7 separate regions of the Homo sapiens genome follow, and regions 1, 2, 3, 4, 6 and 7 are each linked to region 5. Evidence: promoter capture Hi-C in 16 types of primary human blood cells and fetal thymus (Javierre and others, 2016). All regions are on one chromosome and are shown on one strand. Each heading gives the region's core, a stretch centred on a gene start or on the middle of the fragment in contact. The rest is flanking DNA. Distances are from core to core; before and after follow the strand shown. Region 1 overlaps HSF2BP (heat shock transcription factor 2 binding protein). Region 2 overlaps HSF2BP (heat shock transcription factor 2 binding protein). Region 3 overlaps HSF2BP (heat shock transcription factor 2 binding protein). Region 4 overlaps LOC124905029 (a long non-coding RNA gene). Region 5 holds the start of FRGCA (FOXM1-regulated, gastric cancer associated). Region 6 overlaps HSF2BP (heat shock transcription factor 2 binding protein). Region 7 overlaps HSF2BP (heat shock transcription factor 2 binding protein).

Region 1 (2,700 bases), core at 62-2,561, 420 kb before region 5:
ACATAGAATATATACTGATCAGGCTGATCAAGTCAGGGTATTTGGAGTATCCATCACCTTGAGTATTATTTATATGTATTGAGAACATTTCACATACTTCTAGCTACTTTGAAATACAGTATACATTGTTGTTAACTATCATCACCCTACTCTACTCTCAAACATTAGTACTTACACCTTCTATCTGACTGTGTTTGTATTGACCAACCTCTCTCATCCCCACTTCAACCCACAGACCCTTCCCAGCCTCTGCTATCAGTCACTCTACTCTCAACCTTCATGAGATCCACTTTTTAGTTTCCACATATGAGTGAGAACATGCAAAATTTGTCTTTCTGTGTCTGGCTTATTTCGCTTAATGACCTGCAGTTCTATCCATGTTGCTGCAAATGACATAATTTCATTCTTTTCTAAGCCTGAACAGTATTCCACTGTGTATATATACCACATTTTCTTTATCCATTCACCTGTTGACAGACATTTGTAGGTTGATTTTGTCTCTTGTCTATTAGGAACAGTGCTGCAATAAACATGGGGGTATCCCTTTGATATATTGATTACTTTTCCTTTGGATAAATATCCAGAAGTGGAATTGCTAGATCACGTGGTAGTTCTATTTCTAGTTTCTTGAGAAATCTCCATACTGTTTTCTGTAGTGGCTATTCTAATTTACATGCCTATCAACAATGTGTAAAAGTTCCCTTTTCTCCACATCCTCGCCAGCATCTGTTTTTTGTCTTTTTAGTGATAGCCATTCTAACTGGGTAAGATGATATCTCATTGTGATTTCAGTTTGCATTTCCCTGATGATTAGTGGTTTTTTTTTGTATACTTATTGACCATTTGTATGGCTTATTTTGAGGAATATCTGTTCAAATCTTTTGCTCACTTTTTAATGGGATTATTTGTTCTTTTATTTGAGTTGTTTGAGTTCCTTTTAGATAGATCCCCTTGTCAGAGGAATAGTTTGCAAATAGTTTCTCCCATTCAGCACATTGTCTCTTCATTCTGTTGTTTCTTTTGCTGTGCAGAAGGTTTTTAGTTCAATATAGTCTCATTTGTCTATTTTTGTTTGTTGTCTGTGCTTTCAAGGTCTTAGCTATAAAATATTTGCCTGTACCAAATGTCCTGAAGTGTATTCCCTATATTTTCTTCTAGTAGTTTTTAGTTTTGGGTCTAACATTTAAGCTTCAATCCATCTTGAGTTGCTTTTTAAATATTTGGTGAGAGATAGGGATCGAATTTCATTCTTCTGCATATGGATATCCAATTTTCCCAGCACCATTTATCAAAGAGACTGTCCTTCCCCCAAGGTATATTCTTGCACCTCTGTTGTAAATACGTGGATTTATTTCTAGATTCTGGATTCTGTTCCATTGGTGTGTGTGTCTGTTTTTATACCAGTACCATGCTGTTTCGGTTACTAAAGCTTTGTAATCTGTTTTGAAGTCAGGTAATATGATGCCTCTTGCTTTTTTCTTTTTCTTTTCTTTTTTCTTTTTTTTTGCTCACAATTGCATTGGCTATTTGGATTCTTTTGGTTCCATGCAAATTTTAAGATTTTTTTTCAATTTCTGTGAAAAATGACATTGGTATTTTGATAGAGATTGCGTTGAATCTGTAGATGGCTTTGGGCAGTATGATTATTTTGAGGCTATTAATTCTTCCAGTCTTTGAACATGGGATGTCTTTTTGTTTATGTCCTGTTTAATTTCTTTCTTCTGTGTTTTGTCATTTTCCTTGTAGAGATCTTTCGCCTCCTAGGATAAATTTATTCCTAGGTATTTTAATTTTTTGGTAGCTGTTGTAAATGCGACTTCATTCTTTATTTCTTTCTCAGCTTGTTCATTGTTGGTGTATAGAAACACTGTTGATTTTTGTATATTGATTTTGTATCCTGCAGCTTCACTGGATTTATCAGTTCTAACAGTTTTTTGGTGGACTCTAGATTTTTCTAGGTAGAAGATCATATCTTTAGCAAAGAAGGACAGTTTGACTTCTTCTTTTCCAATTTTGCTGCCTTTTATTTATTTATCTTGTCTGATTGCTCTGGCTAGGTCTTCCAGTACTATGTTGGATAGGAGTGGTGAAAGTGGGCATCTTGTCTTGTTGCAGTTCTTGGCTGAAAGGATTTCAGCATTTCTCATTTAGTATGATGTTAGCTGTGGATTTGTCACACGTGGCCTTTATTTTGTTGAGGTATATTCCTTCTATCCTTAGTTTTTTTAAGGTTTTTATCATAAAAGGATGTTGAATTTTACCAAATGCTTTTTTAGCATCTGTTGAATGATCATATGGTTTTGTCGTTTGTTCTGTTGATGTAATGTATCATGTTTATTGATTTGCATATGTTGAACCATCCTTGAATCCCTGGGATAAGTTAAGTTCCATTTGATAATGATGTGTTATTTTTCTGATGTGCCGTTGGATTTAGTTTGCTAGTATTTTGCTGAGAATTTCTAAGTCTATATTCATTAGGAATGTTAGCCTATAATTGTCTTTTCTTTTCTTTTTTTTTTTGTGTTGTTGTTGTTTGAGATGGAGTCTTGCTCTGTCACCCAGGCTGGAGTGTAGTGGCGTGATCTCGGCTCACTGCAACCTCTGCCTCCCAGGTTCAAGCAATTCTTCTGCCTCAGCCTTCCAAGTAGCTGGGATTACAGATGCATGCCACCATGCCTGGCTAATTTTTGTATTTTTAGT
Region 2 (2,700 bases), core at 40-2,539, 490 kb before region 5:
TTTAATCTGGACACAAGTCCTTTTTTAGATATGTGATTAGAAGTACTTTCTCTTAGCCTGTGGCGTGTCTTTTTACTTTCTTTATAAGGTATCTTTTGAAGAGTAGAACTTTTAAGTTTTGATGAAACTTACTTTATTATTATTTTTTAATAGGTCATGATTTTGTGATATCTAAGAAATATTTGCCTAACCTATGGTCATAACGATTTTTTTGAGAAATTTTACATTTATGTTTATGATTCTCTTTTTTTCCCCTTCGTTTTTTCTTTTCTTTTCTTTTCTTTTCTTTTCTTTTCTTTTCTTTTCTTTTCTTTTCTTTTCTTTTCTTTCTTTTTTTTCTTTCTTGAGATGGTGTCTTGCTCTGTCACCTAGGCTGGAGTGTAGTGGTGTGATCATGGCTCACTTCAGCTTCGACCTTCCAGGCTCAAGTGATCCTACTTCAGCCTCACCATGCCTGGCTATTTAAAAAAAATTTTTTTTTTTTTTTGTAGAGATGGGGTCTCACTATGGTGCCCAGGATGGTCTCGATCCTCCCGTCTCAGCCTCCCAAGGTACAATTAGCCACTGTGCCTGGCCTATGATTCTGTTTTTTTTTTTTTTTTTTTGAGATGGAGTCTCGCTCTGTCACCCAGGCTGGAGTGCAGTGGCACGATCTCGGCTCACTGCAGTCGCCCCCTCCTGGGTTCAAGCGATTCTCCTGCCTCAGCCTCCCGAGTAGGTGGGATTATAGGTGGGATTACAGGCCCGTGCCACCATGCTCAACTAACTTTTGTATTTTTAGTAGAGACGGGGTTTTACCATGTTGGTCAGGCTAGTCTTGAACTCCTGACCTCAAGCAATCCACCCACCTCAGCCTCCCAGAATGCTAGGATTGTAGGTGTGAGCCACCGCACCCGGCCCTATGATTCATTTTGAATTATTTTTTTTTTGCATATGAATATTCGGTTGTTTTAGCATCAGTTGTTGAAAAGACTATCCTTTTTCCATTGAATTGCATTGGCACCTTTGTTAAAATCAGTTGACATGTCAGTGTTTCACTGATCTATATGTCCATCCTTATAGCAATACCACAATGGTTCTATTTCGGTAGGTTTATAGTTAGTTTTTTCCTCTAAATCAGGCACTGTTAGTCTTCTAACATTGTTCTTCTTTTTCAGACAATTTTTTAGATATTCTGTCTTGAATTTCCATAGAAATTTTAGAATCAGATTATCACTTTGTACAGAAGTCTGCTGAGATTTTGATAGGGATTGTGTTGAATCTGTAGATCAGTTTGGGAAGAATTGACATCCTGCCAATTTTTGAACATGGTGTATCTCTTTATTTAGCTCTACTTTCTCTCAGTAATGCTTTGTAGTTTTCATTGTATAGGTCTTGCACCTTAAAAAATTATTCTTATTTTTGATGTTACTGGGAATGCTATGATTTTCTTTGAGGTTTGTTTGTTTTTTTTTTGATATTATTATACTATGTGTGGAACCCTGCGTTGGGGAATATCCTCCTGCAACTACCAAATGTGACTGTAGTGAGCAAAGTCCTTCCTGGTTCTTCTCAGTAGTCTTTTTGTGGTCGTGCAGAAGAACCACCATATCCTGACTAATTGAGATGCAGACAGCTTAAGTTGTGAGAAAAGCTAGAATTCCAAAAGGAAGTGCTGTGACATAGTTTTCTTCATGTGTCACCATGACTTGTGTTCAGCTACGTACACTGAAAGGATGAATCTAGGAGTCCAGATTGTTGCTATAATGAAGACATTAAAAACCCGGAGCTGACAGATCACATGATGCAGTATTAGCATGTGCCAGAGGCTCAGTGGCCATTTTTTTCTTAAATACATGTGTGCATATACGTATGAATGTGTATGAATCTCTGTGTGCCAAACGCATTGTCTCCAGGTAACTATGAGTGGGCCACCCTAATCCAAGTTATGAGGTCAACAGTTTTGATTTGTGGCTCCAAAGCTCCCTTTTTCCTCCAGGGGGTGAAAAGCCCCCTCTACTTTGTCTTGTATTTATCTCTCTAAAAGAAAATCTACAGCATTTAATATACTTTAATTTTGTGGTTTATGTAACTAATTACATTTGGTATAAATGAATTTAACTGGGGTTTTATATTTTTCAGTTTTTGTCTTATTAAATCAGGAAATGCTATCACCTTTTAAGGGAATTTCAGGTACCTGGTGCTGGTGGTTGGAGAGGACAGGAAGCCCCCCATCACTCTAGCAGTACACTCAAGGTGAATCCTCGAAGTGTGCTTGTGTTGTCAGGAGGGCCATCAGGACGGCCATTCCCTGTGTTTCCCTTGTGAAGAGTGCCATGGTGGAGACTTGCCCAGCTACAGGTCACCTCAGACACTGCTGGTGGGAGAGTAGGAAACTCTTCCTAGCCTCCATCTTCTTCTTAGACTGGCACTGGCTTGCTGCACCAGGGCATGAATAGGACTCCCAGCCTTCACACTTCTTTTTGCCCCTCCTCCCATCTTTCCTACCTGGTCTTAGGTTTTAGGTTTTCTTTCCCTGTTTAGCTTCACAGATTGTATTTTATATTTACTGGCACCTTTGGCAATATTCTCATGAGGAGTTAAGGATACGTTTATACAGGATGAGTTTTTCTAAAGTACTTGTTTTTTTACAAATCCTGATGTCCAAGTGCCTTTTATTTGGTGTCTGCCTCTGGCAGATGGCGTTTTTTCAATGGAGTG
Region 3 (2,700 bases), core at 65-2,564, 480 kb before region 5:
TAAATATCAGTAAGCAAAGTACAAATTACCATGTAAAACAAAGAAATTCCAACAGATTGACAAATACTGAAGCTGTGTAGGAATTTATTCACATTTATTTTACTTTGTAGTTCATGTTTTAGTGATATTTAATGAAATGCAGCATTGGCATTTGCAGTTAAAATACTAGATATATGATACAGACTTCATTTACCAGTACATTTGTTGTGTTGGGCATTGTTGCTTGCTATGAGATACATATATATATATTTTTTTTCTTCAGCGATGTATTAGTAATGTTTCTATTTTCTATTGCTGTGTAACAAACCTCCTCAAAATATAAAGTCTTAACATTTATCTTGCTCGTGGGTCTACAGTTTGGTCAGGCTTGGCAGGGACAGTTTGCTGCTTCTGCTCTCCAACATCTGGGGCCTTAGCTGGGATGACTCAAATCGTTGAGGGATGGAACAGCTGGGGGCTAGTGGGGTGTCTTTCTCTCTCTTCTTTCCTCATAGAGTCTCAAGGCTTCTTCACTGTGCTATTTCTTATCCTTTTTTTCCTTTTTTCTTTTTTTTTTGAGATGGAGTCTTGCTCTATCACCCAGGCTGGAGTGCAATGGTGTGATCTCAGCTCACTGCAAACTCTGCCTCCCAGGTTCACACCATTCTCCTGCCTCAGCATCTGGAGTAGCTGGGACTACAGGCACCTGCCACCGCGCCCGGCTAATTTTTTGTATTTTTAGTAGAGACGGTTTCATCATGTTAGCCAGGATGATCTTGATCTCCAGACCGCGTGATCCGCCCACCTCGGCCTCCCAAAGTGCTGGGATTACAGGCGTGAGCCACCGTGTTTTTTCTTTTTTTTAAAGACAGAGTTTCGCTCTGTCTCCTAGGCTGGAGTGCAGTAGTGCAATCTCGGCTTACTGCAGCATCCACCTCCTGGGTTCAAATGATTCTCCTGCCTTAGCCTCCCAAGTAACTAGGATTACGGGTGTAAGCCACGACGCCTGGCTAATTTCGTATTTTTAGTAGAGACAGGGTTTTGCCATGTTGGCCAGGCTCATCTCAAACTCCTGACCTCAGGTGATTCACCCACCTTGGCCTTCCAAAGTGCTGGGATTACTGGCGTGAGCCACCACATCTGGCCTTCACTGTGCTATTTCTGTGTGGTCTCTTCATCATGGCAGCCTTAGGGTAGCTGGACTCTTTCATAGTGACTCAGGGATCCTAGAGCAAGTGGCAGGAGACCAAAGTGGAAATCTTAAGGCTTCTTCCTGTCCATCCTTGGAAGGCTCATGGTGTGCATTCTGCTGCGTTCTACTTGTTACAAGTGAGTCGCAGTGTAGGTGACTACTCAAGGGTCTGAACATGAGGCCAGGCCCACCTGGTAGCCATCTCTGGAGTCAGGCTACCAAATAGTTCTATGTTGCTTGCTATGATATATATATATATATATTTTTTTTTTTTCTTCAGCGATGTATTAGTAATGTTTCTATTTTCTATTGCTGTGTAACAAACCTCCTCAAAATATAAAGTCTTAACATTTATCTTGATCATGGGTCTACAGTTTGGTCAGGTTTGGCAGGGACAGTTTGCTGTTGCTGCTCTCCAACATCTGGGTTTCTGCTGGGTTTCAGTATATTATCTGAAGTTATTTACATGAATAATGCTTTCCCCTGAAAAGCTACCTAAAAGCTATCTTTTATGTGTTTCTGATGCCAAATGCTTACTTGCTTTGTTTTTCTCCTAAAATATTTCCTTAGTAAAACTAGAATGTGTCATATTCTGGAAAATGTACCTATCAGGTTAAAATTCATTGACCAAAGAAGGTAAGTTTATGTCATTGAAAGGTTCTGTCAATAAAGTTATGGCTGTCATCAAAGCGTGTACTTGAAGACACTGCACCAATGATATAGTTAAAATGCTGCAAAGACAAGTAGAAAGGGGGAAACATCTGTTAGGTTTAGTAGACTTTACTATCCCTCTTGTGGTCCATCTGAGACCAGGTGAACAAAAGTAAATAGTAATGTCAAAGATCTGAGTTCATGAAGCTGGCCGGGTAACATGAAATTTTATATTCTGCCATCAGATTACATCCAGTCAAAGGCAGAAGAAATAAGTGATAAAATTCAGCTTCCATTTTTGATAATTCTTAGCAAGCCAAAAATAGAAGAAGACTTCTTTAAACTGATAAAGGGTATCTACCAGAAACAGATCAGACATCACACTTAACTGTGAATTTTTAGAAGCGTTTCCATTAAAATCAGGAGCAAGGCAGTGCTGCTGCCCCATCTCTTTTCCACCTTGGTCTCGTCATTTGGCTTAGAAATCTTAGTCAGTTTGAATCATGCTTTACTGTCAGACCCAACTAAAGAAAACTCTTAACAAACACATACATAAATGCACTTGGATCATTGGATACTTCGAGGTATTTGGAAATGTTGATGGAGCCAGTAATGGCTGCAGCACTGCCCATTGGGAGCAGTGTAATTACTCGGTCTGGTCTTCAGGCCGATTCGCAGGGCCTCAGGCATGAAGAAATGGGATACTTGCTGTTCCACAATGGGACATAAAATTGAGAAAATAAGTTTTCTTCAAAATCCATTTTCATACTCTTTTTTGACTACATATAATTTCAGTTTGTATCATGGCTAAAAGTTATTAGCAAATATAGATTGAATATTCCTTATCTGAAATGCCCGGGACCAGAAGTGTTTTGGAT
Region 4 (2,700 bases), core at 63-2,562, 300 kb before region 5:
GCCTGGGACCGTGGCTGGGACTATCAGGGAAAAGATATGCTTTCTCTGTAGACGGTGAACTAGTAGGATGTTAGCTACCTGTCTTAGTCTGCTTTGTGCAGCTATAACAAAATATCAAGTCTGGGTAATCTATAATGAACAGAGATGTCCTGGGGAGGCTGGGAAGTCCAAGAGCATGGCACTGGCATCTAGTTAGGGCCTTCTTGCTGCGGCATCCCAAGGTGGAAGGCAGAAGGGCAAGAGTGAGAAAGTGAGAGCACACACACACACACACACACACACACACACACACACACACACACAAAGAGAGGGGGAGAGAGAGAGAGAGAGCGCGCAAGATGGGGCCAAACTTGTCCTTTTATAAGGAACGCACTCTTGAGATAATGGTATTAATCCACTTGTGAGGGTCGTACCCCTATGACCCAAGCACCTCCCATTAGGCCCCACCTCCCACCATTGCCATGATGGGGATCAAGCTTCTGACACATGAACTTTGGGGGGCACTTTCAAAGCATAGCACCATCTTTGCTACAAACTGGAATGAGCCTGCCTGAGAACAAAGCCAAGGCAGGGAAGTAGAACTGAGGGATGCTGCTGAAAAAAGGGAATAGAACAGATAAACATTGTGTGAGCCTGGGTCGAGCTCAACCTGAAGCCTGTAGTATCCTGGGCCCTTTAGTTATGTTAACCACCAACTCTCCTTTTAGCTTGAACCAGTTTCAGTTGCATTTCTGCCTCTCACAATAAAGGGAGCCTTGACTGAGACCCACTAATAGAAAATGGAGCAGAAAATAAGAACTGACACTCAAACACAAATGGCCAATGAACATGAAGAGAAGAATCACTTTCCATAAGGAAATCCAAGAAGTGCCCATTACAATAAATGCATGCTATTACGGATTGAACTGTGTCCCCCTACTGAAAGGTATGTTAAGTCCTCACCTCCTGTACCTAAGAACATGGCCTTATTTGGAAATAGGGTGGTTGCAGATTAACTAGTTAGAGTGAGACCATACTGGAGTAGGCTGGGTCCTAAATACAGAATGCCTGGTGTCCTTATAAGAAGAGAGGGAGGCCCCAGGAAAAGCCGGCCCATCTGAAGATGGTGGCGGAGACTGGATGAGGGATCTGTAAGCCAACGACTGACAGGTGTCCCTGAGAACCTCCAGAAGCTGGAAGAGGCATGAAAGGAATCTCGCCAGGAGGCTGAAGAGGGAACATGGCCTTGCCCACACAGATTTCAGACATCTGGCTCCAGAACTGTGGGAGGACACATTTCTGTTGTTTAGAACTGCTTGTTTTTTATACTTTGTTATGGCTGCCCTAGGAAACTAATACAGATATTATTTTCCACTTCTGAACTTAGCAAAATATTTTTAAAATGAAAATTCTTAAATGTTGGCACAGTTTAAGGTCAGGGGTGCCCCAGCAGTTTGGCAACATATATCAAAGGCTTTAAGACACTTTATCCTCTTTCACTTGGTAATTCCATTTTTAAGCCTTTATCCTAGGGAAAAATTTCACATAGGAATTAAGAGTTTTGGGAAAGATGCTCACAATAACACTGTTTATAGTAACGTGTAGAAACAATAATGTCTACAAATAGAAATGTTAAATAAATGGGAATGTTACATGTTAAACATGAGATATTAGATATTAAGAATAATGTATTTAAATTATATATGATACATGGAATTCTCTTTCTACAAATAGAAAGGCTATAAGAGTGTTCATATGGGGTACAATCCAAATTTATTTTTTAAAAATTTACATCTATTCAACTAGAAAAAAATGCACCAAAATACTGAGTGATGATATCTGAGTGGTAGAATTATGAATTATTTCTTATATGTTAGTATTATTATTTTCATATATATTTTTTATAATAATCATATATTCAATTTTATCATCAAGAAAAAAGTTTTAAAATTCCAAATCCTTTCATGTGCACTGTTTTAAACTCAGGTAGAAGAAAAAAAGTCACTGAAAATCCAAGATGTAATAAACAGGCCCAACAAAGGCCAACAAACTTAGTATATATTTGCTGTAATAAAATATTAACCCACTTGTGAGGGTCGTGCCCCTGCGGTCCAAACACCTCCCATGAGACCGCATCTCCCAACACGGCCATGTTGGGGATCAAGCTTCCGACACATGAACTTTGGGGAACACTTTCAAACCACAGTACCATCTTTGCTACAAACTGGAATTTTTAAAAATATATATTTATAAAATATAAATTTGGTAGCACAGATTCAATTATGGGACATGGCCGGGAGCAGTTGCTCATGCCTGTTTCCCAGCACTTTAGGAGGCCGAGACGAGTGGATCACCTGAGGTCAGGAGTTTGAGACCAGCCTGGCCACAATGGGGAAACCCCGTCTCTACTAAAAATACAAAAATTTGCCAGGCATGGTGGCGCGCCTGTAATCCCAGCACTTTGGGAGGCCGAGGCAGGAGAATCGCTTGAACTCGGGAGGTAGAGGTTGCAGTGAGCCAAGATCGTGCCACTGCATTCCAGCCTGGGCAACAAGGGCGAAACTCCATCTCAAAAAAAAAAAAAAAGCCAAAAATATCCCCAGAAAACAATTATGGGACACACTGTTTCTAAGTGACATCTAGGGGCAAAGCAAACACAGCTGCTTTCTAAAGCCCTCCAGGGCGTGGCGCAGCCACGGAGCTTGCCCCCACCGGGGGTGG
Region 5 (2,700 bases), core at 124-2,623:
ACCGCCTCATGATCCAATCGCCTCCCTCCTTCAACACCTGGGGATTACAATTCGAGGTGAGATTTGGGTGGGGACACAGCCTCACCACATCATAGCCATTCTGCCCTCCCTGCCCTGCCCTGCCCTGCCTCCAGGTCTGCCTCCAGACCTGGAGTGTTTCTGAGAGTGGACCCAGCACAGGGAGGAGGTGGCTCAGGACACTCAACTCCTGGTCCAGCTCCCACTCATAGCTGGGGTCCTGGCCGGTGACTCCATCTCCCTTTCTGCTGTCTCCCTGTCTATAAGACAAGGGGCTGGGCCAGCCATCTCAAGGTCCCCTCCAGTTCCATCTTCCCAGGGCTGAGCAGGTCCTGGGCCTTGGCGTCACAGAGCCCAGCTCACAGGCCCACCCGGGAGAGGTATCGGGATGTGTCTTTGCCACATCATAAGTTAGGCAGAAAGATGTGTGGGACGTGGCCCTGCCCCCGGTCAGGACGGTGGACACATGCAAACGCCGCACAGACGCACCCTGCCCTGACACCGCCCGGAGCACCTGGGTGGCTTCCTGAATGGCGAGGCATGGTGGGCACTCATGGGCCTGCCGTGCACCCCACCTGCAGGGCACGTGCCCAGCAGACAGCAAGGGCTGAATGACAGGTGACAGGACGGCCGCCAGGCAGGCGAAGGTGGGGCCAAAGGCAAGGGTGGCTGCTCGGCTGCAGGGCACGGACACTCAGCCTCTATTTCCTCCTGGGGTGGCGAGGGGGGGCGAGGGAGGGGCGAGGGAGGGGCGAGGGGGGGCGAGGGAGGGGTGAGGGAGGGGTGAGGGACGGTCAGACCGGATGTGGCTGTGCTTCAGACCGCGCGGGAAGTCCTGGGATGGCGTGGAGCCCGCTTCAGCTGAAGGGACAGAGGGAGAGGCAGGGGCCAGACAGCGCCAACCACCTGAGACCCAGGCAAGAGACAGTATGGTGGGTGGGGGTACTGCCCAGTAAGGGCTGGGGGAGAGGACTGAGGAAACCCTCCCTCCATCAACGTGCCTGGGAGCCCTGCCAGGTGAGAGCCCTGTTGTTCCTGGATGACTGTGGACCGCTCACTCCGGCCCCTCAGCCCCTACCCAGCCTGCCCCCAGGAGCAGCACGGCTGGGCACCAGCATCTCTCCAGCTGGCAGTTGCCCCACTGGGATCCCCCAAATGCCCTGCAAGCCAAGGTGTGCAAGCCCTGCACACTGAGGGCTGGAGGGCAGCCCCCGTGCTGTGTTCCAGATGGAGGGAGGGGTGGGGAGGGGGGAGCTACACTGGGGAGGGCTGCGCCGGTCACTGCCGAGGAGGGAAAGCCTCAACATCACCCCTCTTACCCCCCATCTCCCGCAGCCTCCCAGCAAGGTTGTGGCCCGCAGCGGACGCTCCCCACGAGGTAGAGCCCCGTTTCCACACCTGGAGCAGCTGCACCTGGAGGTGGGGCTCATCTCCAGACCTGGAGCAGCTGCCTGCCCCAGGGCAGAAGCCACTGCCCGCAGCTAGGTGAGGCCATGTGCCCAGTCCTGGTCAATGGACTGAGCATGAGGGGATGTGTGCCCAGCAGCAGGGACTACTGTGCACTGAAGGCCAGGGCCGCTGGATTGGGACAAATAAATACAGCAGGTCCTCAAATCCCATCGTTTCATTCTAGGGAGCATTGAGGAGGTCTCCCCAGGTCCGCGCGGGTTTTCTCCAGGTCCTCCAGTTTCCTCCCACATCCCAAGTATACACCTCAGCCTCACGGCATGTCTACATGGGCCTAGTCCGAGTGAGTGTGGGTGTCCCATGGAGGCCTGTCCTATCCAGGGCGGGTGCCCACCTTGGCACTGAGCCTCCAGGATGGGCCCTGGTCACCTGCCACTCTGAACTGGAGAAAGCAAGTTGGAAAATGAATGAATACATGAATATAAATTATCAAATAAAAATTATAAAGCCTACGGTAATCACACAAACGCATGACAACAAACGCCGCGTGTGAGGGTGCTCAAGGAGCCGCCATACTCACGGTCGCTTGTCTTTCAGCTGTGCGGTGGGAGGAGGTGCTCCCAAGAGCGTGTGCTTTGCAGACATTGATTCCGTGATTTCACCACCACCACTACCACCGCCGTCACTCACAGACATCCCAAATATTGGGTAGATCATGATCTCACTTGTTTGTATTAATCTTCCTTATGTAGGTGTAGCTACCTCTACATGTAGGGATAGTTTACATTTATTTCAATGTTTAATATTAGAAGTGTTTGGGTCTTTAGAAATTTGGTGGTGTTTTTTGTTTTTTTGTGGGGTTTTTTTGGAAATAGGGTTTTGTTCCGTCGCCCAGGCTGGAGTGTGGTGGTGTGATCACAGCTCACCGCAACCTTAGCCTCTGAGGCTCAAGCAATCCTCCCACCTCAGCCTCCTAAGTAGCTGGGACCACAGGCACACACCACCTTTCCTGGCTAATTTGGGGGGCATTTTTTGTAGAGATGGGGTTTCATCATGTCGCCCAGGCTGGTTTTGAACTCCTTGCCTCAAGAGATCTGCCACCTCAGCCTCCCGAAGTGCTGGGATTACAGGTGTGAGCCACCACACCTGTTCTGGTGATGTTTTGAGAGCAGAAATATGCCTCTTTTTTTTTTTTGAGACAGAGTTTCACACTTATTGCCCAGGCTGGAGTGCGGTGGCGTGATCTCGGCTCACTGCAACCTCCACCTCCCAGGT
Region 6 (2,700 bases), core at 55-2,554, 440 kb before region 5:
GTTTTCATATCTCCCTCAGCAGGCCCTTCATCTCTCTCAGCAGGTCCTCATCTCCCTCAGCAGGTCCTTCATCTCCCTCAGCAGGTCTTCATCTCCCTCAGCAGTCCCTTCATCTCCCTCAGGAGGTCCTCATCTCCCTCAGCAGGTCTTCATCTCCCTCAGCAGGTCCTCATCTCCCTCAGCAGGCCCTTCATCTCCCTCAGGCCCTTCATCTCTCTCAGCAGGTCCTCATCTCCCTCAGCAGGCCTTCATCTCCCTCAGCAGGCCTTCATCTCCCTCAGCAGGTCCTCATCTCCCTCAGCAGGCCCTTCATCTCCCTCAGCAGGCCCTTCATCTCCCTCAGCTGGCCCTCATCTCCCTCAACAGGTACTCATCTCCCGCAGCAGGCCCTCATCCCCCTCACCAGGCCCTCATCCCCCACAGCAGGTCTTCATCTCCCTCAGCAGGCCCTTCATCTCCCTCAGCAGGCCTTCATCTCCTTCAGCAGGCCTTCATCTCCCTCAGCAGGTCCTCATCTCCCTCAGCAGGTCCTCATCTCCCTCAGCAGGTCCTCATCTCCCTCAGCAGGCCCTTCATCTCCCTCAGCAGGCCCTTCATCTCCCTCAGCAGGCCTTCATCTCCTTCAGCAGGCCTTCATCTCCCTCAGCAGGTCCTCATCTCCCTCAGCAGGTCCTCATCTCCCTCAGCAGGCCCTTCATCTCCCTCAGGCCCTTCATCTCTCTCAGCAGGTCCTCATCTCCCTCAGCAGGCCTTCATCTCCCTCAGCAGGCCTTCATCTCCCTCAGCAGGTCCTCATCTCCCTCAGCAGGCCCTTCATCTCCCTCAGCAGGCCCTTCATCTCCCTCAGCTGGCCCTCATCTCCCTCAACAGGTACTCATCTCCCGCAGCAGGCCCTCATCCCCCTCACCAGGCCCTCATCCCCCACAGCAGATCTTCATCTCCCTCAGCAGGCCCTTCATCTCCCTCAGCAGGCCTTCATCTCCTTCAGCAGGCCTTCATCTCCCTCAGCAGGTCCTCATCTCCCTCAGCAGGTCCTCATCTCCCTCAGCAGGTCCTCATCTCCCTCAGCAGGCCCTTCATCTCCCTCAGCAGGCCCTTCATCTCCCTCAGCAGGCCTTCATCTCCTTCAGCAGGCCTTCATCTCCCTCAGCAGGTCCTCATCTCCCTCAGCAGGTCCTCATCTCCCTCAGCAGGCCCTTCATCTCCCTCAGCAGGCCCTTCATCTCCCTCAGCAGGCCCTTCATCTCCCTCAGCCGGCCCTCATCTCCCTCAACAGGTACTCATCTCCCGCAACAGGCCCTCATCTCCTGCAGCAGGCCCTCATCCCCCTCACCAGGCCCTCATCCCCCACAGCAGGTCTTCATCTCCCTCAGCCGGCCCTCATCTCCCGCAACAGGCCCTTATCTCCCACAGCAGGTCTTCATCCCCCTCAGCAGGCCTTCATCCCCCTCAGCAGGCACTCATCTCCCTCAGCAGGCCCTCATCCCCCACAGCAGGCCCTCATCCCCCACAGCAGGCCCTCATCTCCCACAGCAGGCCCTCATCCCCCACAGCAGGGCCTCATTCCCCACAGCAGGCCCTCATCCCCCACAGCAGGGCCTCATTCCCCACAGCAGGCCCTCATCTCCCACAGCAGGCCCTCATCTCCCACAGCAGGCCCTCATCCCCCACAACAGGGCCCCTCAGCAGGCCCTCATCCCCCACAGCAGGCACTCATCTCCCACAGCAGGCCCTCATCCCCCACAGCAGGCCCTCATCTCCCACAGCAGACCCTCATCCCCCACGGCAGGCCCTCATCTCCCACAGCAGGGCCTCATTCCCCACAGCAGGCCCTCATCCCCCACAGCAGGGCCCCTCAGCAGGCCCTCATCTCCCTCAGCAGGCCCTCATCTCCCGCAGCACAGACCCTTCTGACCACTGGCTAAGGTGAGACTTGGCAGTGCCAGCTATATGGCTGTGGCCACAGCAGTGATTTTAGTGGTGGGTGTGTGCTCTGAGCTGGGCCATAGTCTTTCTCCAGGAGTTTTCTGGCTTCAGCTGCTGAAGAACAGTGTTTTTTTTGCCTTTCTTGGGCCGTGAAACTATTGGATGTGACTCTAGAGCTGCCTGTGGCCGTGTTCCTGGCCACCTGGAGAAAATTTATCTGTGTTGTCAGTTGCTGAAGCCAAGACATAAATGCTGACCTGAGATGCAGAGGAGCCCTATGGCTTGCAGTCAGCTTTATCCCTGTCCAGGTGGGCTGTATAGCTTTTCCTCAGATTTTGAGTTATCCCAGCATCTTTCATAAGTGACTCCTTTTATCCTTCTTTCTTTTCTTTCTTTTTTTTTTTTTGAGACAGAGTCTCACTCTGCCACCCAGGCTGGAGTTCAGAGGCGTGATCTTGGCTCACTGCAAGCCCTGCCTCCCAGGTTCACGCCATTCTTCTGCCTCAGCCTCCCAAGTAGCTGGGACTACAGGCACCTGCCACCACGCCCGGCTAATTTTTCGTATTTTTAGTAGAGACAGGGTTTCACCGTGTTAGCCAGGATGGTCTCGATCTCCTGACCTCGTGATCCGCCCGCCTCGTCTTCCCAAAGTGCTGGGATTACAGGCGTGAACCACTGCGTCCGGCTGCCTTTTACCTTTCTTAAGCTAACTTAAGCATCATCTTCCTTCCCTTGAGGGCAGTGTGCCCACTCCCCCAACTTTGATTCCACATC
Region 7 (2,700 bases), core at 133-2,632, 390 kb before region 5:
CTGAGTACCTGGGATTACAGGCGTGCGCCACCACACCCAGCTAATTGTTATATTTTTAGTAGAGATGGGGTTTCACTATGTTGGCCAGGCTGTTCTCAAACTCCTGACCTCGTGATCCGCCCGCCTTGGCCTCCCAAAGTGCTGGGATTACAGGTGTGAGCCACTGCGCCTGGCCTCCATTGCCTCTTCATTGTAATTTTTGATTTCAGTGTTGGACATTGTGTGGAGGGCAGTAGGCAAGGTCAAAAAACTTTTTCTGTAATGGGCCAAATAAATATTTTGAGTTTTGAGAGCCACGTGTAGTCCCTGTTGCATGTTATTCTTCTGGTTTTTACTTTTAAAAAATTACCCTTAAAAAATGTAAAACCTGGCAGGCTGCAATGGTTCATGCCTCTAATTCTGGCCCTTTGGGAGACTGAGGTGGAAGGATTGCTTGAGCCCAGGGGTTTGATACCAGCCTGGGCAGTGTGGTGAGACACCGTCTCTACAAAAAAATGTGAAAAATTAACTGGGCGTGGCCACATGTTCTGTGGTCCCTCTTTCTTGGGAGGCCGAGGTGGGAGGATGGCTTGAGCCCAGGAGATTGAGACTGCAGTGAGCCATGATTGTACCAGAGTACTCCAGCCTGGGAGACAGAGCAAGACCCTGTCTCCAAAAGGAGGAGGAGGAGGGGGGGGGGAGGAGGAGGTGGTGGAGGAGGAGAGGAGGGGGGGGGAGGAGGAGGAGGAGGAGGAGGAAAGAAGAAGAAGAAGAAGAAAAAAAAAGTAAAACCATTCTTAGCTTGCAGGCTGTACAGAAACGGGTCATGGGCTACCTTTGGCCTCTGGGCCATGCGTACCCTCTCTGTAGAGGGGAATGAGGTGGGTAGATAGTGTTATATTCAGGAATGGCCACTCCTCTTTTTCCGCTGGGTTTTCATTGTTGGGGAGTTAAGGTGGGTCTGGGTTTTGTTGTTGTGTATGTACCTTCCATCCCACTGGCTTCAAATTCCTCTAACCTTTCCTTGAGCTTAGGATGAGGGCTGAGTTGCCAAAGCGTCTTCACCCATGGCTTTTGGCCTTGCCTCTGTGTCTGCCTTAGCTGCCCCTTATCTTTGGCAGGTCTCTACTAGAGAAAGTTCCCCTCCCTTCCCCCAAAGTAGGAGGACTCTAACAGGCTGGCTTAAGATGGCTCCTGGACCCTCCCTGAGGGCTAGAGCAGATTGCCTTTTATCTTCCCTGGCCACAGCAGTCTTCTGATTCTGTAGGTGAGAAGCTTCTTGTTAGGGCTTAGTGCTGTGGCAGCTCCCACTGAGAGACTGTTCAGTCTGCTCTTTCAGTCTACATCTTAAAAGGTTTTTTTTTAATTTTTTTATTTGTTAAGTAAATGTGCTAAGAAAGAGGTGCTGATTTTGAGCCTGGTTCCAGTTGCAGTACCCAGTCAAGGAGTGAATTTACGGCATCGTAAAGGCTGCCAGTAGAGAGGAATGGTAAGGAAAGTTGGCTCCACTCTGGTGATGGATTGAAGCTTCCAGTGGGTTTGTCTAGCTATTTTTTAGTGGTTGCTACAATGTATGCAAGGCTACCAGATTCTATAAGTCCTGGGGCCATTCCCATGGAAAATAAACAACGTGAATTTTATATACCCAGTGACATTGTGTAAACTCAGTGGCCCTGATAAGTGCTGTATCTGTATGTGGTCCCTGAGGGATTTGCTGCAATTGGAGTGAAAAAGAAGTAATACTTTTTAAAACAATCTTATAAGTGGACAGAATGCTACTGTCGACAAAGAGTCAAACTCTGCAAAATATTTGAAGAGATTTGTTCTGAGCCAAATATGAGTGAGGTCCTGAGAACATGTGCCCAAGGTAGTTGGGTGCGGCTTGGCTTTATACATTTTAGAGAGGTGTGAGACATCAATCAAAAACATTTAAGAAATACATTGGTTTGGTCCAGAAAAGTGGGACAAAGCTGGGGGGCGTGGGGCTTCCAGGCTATAGGTGAATTTAAACATTTTCTGATTGATAAAGACCTGGGATTGATAGAAAGGGAATGTTCAGGTTAAGGTAAAGATTGTGGACATCCAAGTTCTTTTGAAGTCTTATGGTGGCTGCCTTAGAGACAATAGATGACAGATGTTTCCTATTCAGATCTTAGTTAATCTCTTTAGGATTAGGAGGGTCTCGAAGAAAAAGATCTAGCTATGTTAGTAGAGATTCTTTACAAATGCAGATTTTCCCCCACAAAGAACAGCTTTGCAGGGCCATTTCAAAATATGGCAAAGAAACATATTTTGGGGTAAAGTATTTTTATTTTCTTTCTTGTCTCATAATGTTATGCCAGAGTCAGGTTGGAAAGTCATGATATATAGGGTTAAATAAAACCCATCTGATGAGAATTTGTGATTTGTAGGACATGACTCCCCAGACCCCTTAGATAGGAATTTGGGCAAGATAAAAAAAATCAGAGTTTAGTCCTCACTAGCAAACAGAGAAAGCCCTCATCTTTCTAGTTTAACACTTTAAAATTGTATGACTGTAATATTTGAAGATGATGGTTATTAGACTATTGAGTTTTTTGATGCTGCTTTTATGAGCTAAGCTTTTATATCAAGCAGTGACTGTGTTTCTGGGTTATCCTGTAGTTTTCTAAACTGTCAAACGTGTTATTCAGAAAGGCCAGGAACCCCTTGAGGGGTAGATTGCAGTAGAACATTTTATTC

The links. The method cuts DNA at HindIII sites, captures the fragments that hold promoters and counts their contacts. A CHiCAGO score of 5 or more calls a contact.
Region 1: a fragment that was not itself captured here is called in contact with the fragment with the promoter of FRGCA in region 5 in 9 of 17 cell types (total B cells, naive B cells, total CD8 T cells and 6 more); the score reaches 9.0 in total B cells.
Region 2: a fragment that was not itself captured here is called in contact with the fragment with the promoter of FRGCA in region 5 in 17 of 17 cell types (naive CD8 T cells, naive CD4 T cells, M2 macrophages and 14 more); the score reaches 19.9 in naive CD8 T cells.
Region 3: a contact is called between a fragment that was not itself captured here and the fragment with the promoter of FRGCA in region 5, in 15 of 17 cell types (naive CD8 T cells, M2 macrophages, total CD4 T cells and 12 more). The highest score is 11.7, in naive CD8 T cells.
Region 4: a fragment that was not itself captured here is called in contact with the fragment with the promoter of FRGCA in region 5 in 1 of 17 cell types (endothelial precursors); the score reaches 6.1 in endothelial precursors.
Region 6: a fragment that was not itself captured here is called in contact with the fragment with the promoter of FRGCA in region 5 in 6 of 17 cell types (naive CD8 T cells, naive CD4 T cells, total CD8 T cells and 3 more); the score reaches 8.9 in naive CD8 T cells.
Region 7: a fragment that was not itself captured here is called in contact with the fragment with the promoter of FRGCA in region 5 in 9 of 17 cell types (naive B cells, total CD8 T cells, naive CD8 T cells and 6 more); the score reaches 10.8 in naive B cells.

The regions. Positions count from the first base shown.
Region 1 is chr21:43,559,599-43,562,298 of GRCh38, reverse strand. All of the region lies in intron 8 of HSF2BP (heat shock transcription factor 2 binding protein), which reads left to right. Among named protein-coding and RNA genes, the nearest start is that of H2BC12L, 4.2 kb to the left of the region's middle. The HindIII fragment of the contact is 241 bases long and covers 1,191-1,431 here.
Region 2 is chr21:43,633,834-43,636,533 of GRCh38, reverse strand. The region is part of intron 4 of HSF2BP (heat shock transcription factor 2 binding protein); the gene reads left to right. Among named protein-coding and RNA genes, the nearest start is that of HSF2BP, 24 kb to the left of the region's middle. The HindIII fragment of the contact is 7,109 bases long and covers 1-2,700 here.
Region 3 is chr21:43,614,787-43,617,486 of GRCh38, reverse strand. The region is part of intron 6 of HSF2BP (heat shock transcription factor 2 binding protein); the gene reads left to right. Among named protein-coding and RNA genes, the nearest start is that of MIR6070, 6.1 kb to the right of the region's middle. The HindIII fragment of the contact is 9,663 bases long and covers 1-2,700 here.
Region 4 is chr21:43,437,887-43,440,586 of GRCh38, reverse strand. LOC124905029 (a long non-coding RNA gene) reads right to left here. Exons shown (of 3, transcript XR_007067891.1): 3 at 1,736-2,700. Among named protein-coding and RNA genes, the nearest start is that of LINC00319, 7.4 kb to the left of the region's middle. The HindIII fragment of the contact is 1,668 bases long and covers 479-2,146 here.
Region 5 is chr21:43,139,765-43,142,464 of GRCh38, reverse strand. FRGCA (FOXM1-regulated, gastric cancer associated) reads left to right here and starts at 1,373. Exons shown (of 2, transcript NR_133677.1): 1 at 1,373-1,503; 2 at 1,652-1,942. The region is part of intron 4 of LOC101928369 (a long non-coding RNA gene); the gene reads right to left. RefSeq lists enhancers at 1-442, 443-980. The HindIII fragment of the contact is 22,159 bases long and covers 1-2,700 here.
Region 6 is chr21:43,581,018-43,583,717 of GRCh38, reverse strand. The region is part of intron 8 of HSF2BP (heat shock transcription factor 2 binding protein); the gene reads left to right. Among named protein-coding and RNA genes, the nearest start is that of H2BC12L, 17 kb to the right of the region's middle. RefSeq lists an enhancer at 1-48. The HindIII fragment of the contact is 4,467 bases long and covers 1-2,700 here.
Region 7 is chr21:43,530,340-43,533,039 of GRCh38, reverse strand. The region is part of intron 8 of HSF2BP (heat shock transcription factor 2 binding protein); the gene reads left to right. Among named protein-coding and RNA genes, the nearest start is that of H2BC12L, 33 kb to the left of the region's middle. The HindIII fragment of the contact is 252 bases long and covers 1,257-1,508 here.